Regions from separate parts of the Homo sapiens genome. Here region 1 is linked to region 2. The links are contacts of gene promoters, found by promoter capture Hi-C in human tissues and cell types (Jung and others, 2019). All regions are on one chromosome and are shown on one strand. Each heading gives the region's core, a stretch centred on a gene start or on the middle of the fragment in contact. The rest is flanking DNA. Distances are from core to core; before and after follow the strand shown.

Region 1 (2,700 bases), core at 160-2,659, 260 kb after region 2:
AATTACTCCAACACCTGCCTCTCCTTCCCTCTAAGCTGTTGCTGAGTAGCCTTGCTGGCCAAACACAGCAAAAAGACAGAGGCCAAGGGAACTGTTGGATGTGGTCCACAAAGGTTGACCTCCTGGGGCAAAGATCATGGAAGAGAAGTGGTATGGACTGACTGTGTCACCACAAAATTCGTATGTTGAGATCCTCAACCCCAATGCGATGGCATTAGAAGACTGGGCCTTTAGGAAGTAATTAGGTCATGAGGGTGGAGCTGTTAGAAATGGGATTAGAGCCCTTGTAAAAGGGACCCCACAGGCCAGGCATGGTGGCTCACACCTGTAATCCCAGCACTTTGGGAGGCCGAGGCAGGCAGATCACAAGGTCAAGAGACAGAGACCATCCTGGCCAACATGGCGAAACCCCGTCTCTACTAAAAATACAAAAATTAACTGGGCATGGTGGTGCACACCTGTAGTCCCAGCTACTTGGGAGGCTGACATGAGAATTGCTTGAACCTGGGAGGGGGAGGTTGTAGTGAGCCAAAAATCATGCCATTTCACTGAAGCCTGGTGACAGAGTGAGACTCATCTCAAAAAAAAAAAAAAAAAAAAAAAAAAAAAAGGGACCCCAGAGAGCTGTCTCACCCTCTTTCTGCCGTGTGCAAACAACAAGAAGTTGCCATCTATGAACCAGGAAGAGGGCCTTTGCCAGACACCGAATCTGCCAATGCCTTGATCTCGTACTTCTCAGCCTCCAGAACTGAGAAATAAATGTTTGTTGTTTAAGCCACCTAAACTATGGCATTTTTGTTGTTGCAGCAGCAACTAAGAAAAGAAAGGTCTAGAAGGCATCAAACAGAAGGCATCTGCAGAGTCCATTCTTTTGCCTCTCAACATCCCTTCTCCTCATCTGGGAAAAAATTCACAGAATATACAAAGTCCCATCAGAAACTACATCATTATGAGATAATATCAATGAGGTTACACTCCCAGGAGAAATCTGAAATGTTAGCCACTACTGGTGTCTCAATTTCCAATTCAGTAGAAACAATACTGCATTTCTAGAATAATCATTCTTCCTTTGAGTGTTTCTAAATCTGCCCAAGAACATGGTAACAGGAAGCAAAAGTTCTTCAAGTAGGATAGTAGAAGTAACAGTAAGAGGGACCATTCTTGGACTTTTGCTTGCTGGCTATAGCAGAGAGAACACTACATTTGGATGCTGGCTGAAGGCATGTTGTTTAGGGCAACACCCCAATTGCATAAAGGGTTGGCTCCCAAGCTGGTGCCATTCCTGAGTCTTCAGCAGGTCATTCCAGCACACATCAAGCCAGCCTCTGGGTGATGGGATGCATGGAAAGACTAGTGAATTCGATGTGTGTGGGCCCGTTGCCGCAGCCTCTTTGCAGTAAAATGTTTCCTGAGCAGAAGCAACATTGTGTGGGAAACCATGGCAATGGATTGTGCGTTTTCTAAGTCCAAGAACAGTAGCTCTGGCAGACGCGCTGCTGGCAGGGAGGATACATCCCTAACTGCAATATGTGTGTGTCCCTGTGAGGACAAAGTGCTGTTCCTGCCATGATGGAGGGGGCCAATGTATTCAATTTGTCACCAGATAGCTGACTGCTGCCATATTTATTATAGCACTGGTGGAAGCCGAGCAGAAGACAGAGGGTAAAGTTGCTGGTTGATGCCGCTCACACATGCCAACCTTCTGGTGGAAAGCCGAATGCAGAGAGGAGGAGAGCCACACATTGGTTCAGGAAACCCCCAAATTTAGGGCTCCTGCTCTGAGACCTCCACAAGTTTATGACGTTTTTAAACTTTCAGGCCCTTGTGGTTGCCTCTTCTCCCTCTGTCAAAACGGAGCCCTTTTGAGGATCTCTTCCATCTTGGTGGGGATGTAGGGAGCCCCTTGCTCTTTCTGGAAGAGTTTGCATTTTAGCTTTACCACTTAAAGTGTTACTGCCTGAAGTCTGGCTCATTCCTTTGTGGCCACAAAGTTGGACCCTTGGGAGCAGAGAGTGTTATTTGATTTGACATCATCTTGACTCTTGAAAACCACACACACCTGGGGTTGCTGGTCACAGAGACATTTTGGGGAAGACTGATTTGCAGCAATTCTCAGCTAATTTTCATAAAATAAGCAAAGGAGAAAGAACGTGGCTTCAGGGTCAGAAAATACTGGGTTTAAGTCAAGGCTTTGCTTTGAGAGGTTCTAAAGGGTATGACTTTGGGGAAGTTGCAAACTCTTGGGGAGATTCAACTTTCCTCTTCTGTAAGCTAGGAACCAGAGTGACTATCCCTCAGGGCTTTGAGGAAGTTAAATATGTTGTGCAGGTTGTAACACAATGAGGTTCCAGGGAGTGGTAATAATGCACCAAGAGGATTTGGTCCCACACGCTGCCTGTGATCCACCAGGCCCCCAGTAATCTCTGCATCACCCCCTGCCCCATCACCAATCCACAGAGTCAATAGTCATGTATTTTGCTAGGGGGTCTCAAGTTCTGAGCCTCAAAGAGGAAGTTGAGCATTACAAAAATAGAGGTGTTATATGGATAAAGCTGTAGCTTTCTACCTGTAAAACCCACCACATCAATCTGTGAAGATGCGGTTCATTATTCTCAGGATGATGCAATTAGTCTTAATGACCTGGCAGGCGCTTGTGAGCAATGATTCTTAATAAAGCTTTCAGGGCTAGGGTGAAAACCA
Region 2 (2,700 bases), core at 7-2,506:
GTGAATTTCTCAGATTAGATCACTGTACTGTGATTATATAAGATGTTAGTTTTGGGGAAAGCTGGGAGAAGGTTAAACAGGTACTATTTTTGCAAACTTTTTATAAGACTGAAATTATTTCAGAATAAAAAGTAAAGAAATAAACAGGTGGACTTTGGAGTCATTCTGCCTCTCCTCAAATCTGGCTACACTACTTACTAACTGTGTGACATTGGGCAAGTTACTTCATTTCTCCCCTCAGTTTCCTTATATGTAAAATGGGGATAAAAAGAATACCTATCTGGGAGGCCGAGGTAGGTGGATCACTTTAGCCCAGGAGTTTGAGACCAACCTGGGCAGCATGGTGAAACCCCATTTCTACAAAAAGTACAAAGATTAGCCAGGTGTGGTGGCACACGCCGTATTCCCAGCTACTTGGGAGACTGAGGTGGGAGGATCAAATGAGCCCAGGAGGCAGAGGCTGCTGTGAGCAGAGATCGCGCCACTGTACTCCAGCCTGGGTGACAGAGCAAGACCTTGTCTCAAAAAAAAAAAAAAAAAAGAAAAAATACCTATCATAGAGGGTTGTAATGAGAGTTAAATGTGTTAATACATGTGTAGTACTTAGAACTCTGCACCTTGGCCCAGAGCAAGGGCTATACTATTACGTGTAATTATCAGAGGAGACTGGCAGCATCTTCTGATCTTAGGGACATTTAATCTCTCTGTGTGTGTCTCACTGTGCTTCTGGAAAGTTTCTGATGCAGGCTCCTGGACTGATTCCTTCTCCAATCAATTACTCTGGCCTAAAAGCATTTCCCTTTCTACCAGCAGCCAGATAAAGCCAAATTCAGCACTAGGATCTGTAGTATTAACTTAAGTATTACCCACTTAATGGGACTTAAGTGTTACCTAGTTTTAGAGGAATAAGAATAACTTCTGTCTCACGTTGGGTTTCACTGAGGAGATGTCTGCATTGGAAAGACAGAGCTCATGTCACTAAAGAAGCTTCTGGGGCCAGTTTCCCTTAACCCCATTGCAGCCTGCAGACCTTTTGGGCTTGCAGGACCAACATCCCTGATTGGTTTGGGAGGGGCGTGTGTGTGTGGATCTGCCTCACAATGGCCTGTCTGAGCCCTTATCTGAGGTCACACGTTATCATTTGTTTGGCCAATAAGACTGTAGCACACACACCAGCTTCAGTCCCCACTTGGCCTTACCTTTGATGTCACAATCTGACCTGTGGGTATTAATCTGGTCACAGCTGCTCACAGACTAGATGGCAAGGTCCAGGGGACTAGCACAGGAAGATGTGGAAGAGAAGTGACCATCAACCCAAGATCAAAGCAGAGGATGGACCTCTGGTGGGCCAGTTCGAGGTTCTGGGTTCAGTTCCAGAACCTGCCATGCCACATCCTCTAGAGCTGTCAGAATTTGAGAGCTTCCCAGTGTTTCAGGACATTAGGCTTCACATCAGGGAAGTGGGAGCTCAATTGGTCAAGAAAGTCAATGCCGTCTTTCAGCTGGACATCACCAAAAATGGGAAGACCATTTTGCGGTGGACCATTGATCTGAAGAATGGTTCTGGGGACATGTATCCGGGACCTGCCAGGCTCCCAGCAGACACTGTCTTTACAATCCCGGAGTCTGTCTTTATGGAGCTGGTTTTGGGCAAAATGAACCCGCAGAAGGCTTTCCTTGCCGGAAAGTTCAAAGTGAGTGGCAAGGTTCTGCTTAGCTGGAAGCTGGAAAGGGTTTTCAAAGACTGGGCTAAATTTTAAGCATGCAAAAATACCAAGGAAGAACTTCTCTTCGATGATAATGTCGAGTGGAAATCATGCTTAATCTGAAGATTAAAGTAAAAAGTATCCAATATTTTTACTCAAATTCTTCCTATTCAAGTTTAATTGATTTTCCTGTTGATGGGTAAATTTTCAGGGAGGGTTCTGAAGCAGTAAAAAGCGTTGTAGTGCATCAATTAGAATCTTTGTCTTTTTCTCTTTTTTTAGCTCCATTTATGCCCTTTATGCTCCATTTATGCCAGGGTGAGAGCCACGTGTAAAGAAATGGGTGATTATGATCATTGGAATTAAATACTCCAATGATTGTGTTCTTGAGACATTTTTCCTTTTCTAAAAAAGTTTGATGTTTTGGGGAAAGAAGTGATAACTATCATTGTGCAGGTGTGCATTCTGCATGGTAACTTGATTCCATGAGGAAACTTTACTATGAGACTGTGGGGTGCTAAGGGAATGGGGCACCACAGGTCTGTGGGTGGAACCCAGGCAATAGAGGGGATGGTGCTGTTGGTGTATTATAATTTCTGATGGTTTCAATTCCAAGAAACTTGAAGGGCTTGGGAGGTGTTCTAGGCCAGTGGTTCTTAACTGGAGCATGCATCAGAATCACCGGAAAGGTTGGTTAAAGTCTGGATTGCTGGGCTCCATCTCAGAGCTTCTACTCAGGAAATCTGGGCTGGAGAGAATGCACATTTCTAACAAGTTCCCAGGGGATGCTGATGGCACCACCCTTAGAGAATTCCAGCTCTGCTTCACTTCATGCCAAAGCTCTCAGTATTGACTGTAACTATTCTATTCTAGGCCAATGAGATGGTGCCATTAATTAAAGGATCTCCCAGAGACAGACCCCACAGCCCTCTGTGAGCCATTTATAAAGTATCCATGCTGTCAGGAGCTTGTGCATTGAACATTTTACAAAATC

The links. Contacts are between HindIII fragments. The study calls those that stand out against the background at their distance.
Region 1: a contact is called between a fragment that was not itself captured here and the fragment with the promoter of SCP2D1 in region 2, in 1 of the 25 tissues and cell types used here (spleen).

What each region holds. Positions count from the first base shown.
Region 1 is chr20:19,068,854-19,071,553 of GRCh38, forward strand. No RefSeq gene overlaps it. Among named protein-coding and RNA genes, the nearest start is that of SLC24A3, 140 kb to the right of the region's middle. The HindIII fragment of the contact is 3,871 bases long and covers 1-2,700 here.
Region 2 is chr20:18,812,527-18,815,226 of GRCh38, forward strand. SCP2D1 (SCP2 sterol binding domain containing 1) reads left to right here and starts at 1,257. Exons shown (of 1, transcript NM_178483.3): 1 at 1,257-1,852. The coding sequence starts at 1,290. The coding sequence ends at 1,760. All of the region lies in intron 2 of SCP2D1-AS1 (SCP2D1 antisense RNA 1), which reads right to left. The HindIII fragment of the contact is 11,706 bases long and covers 1-2,700 here.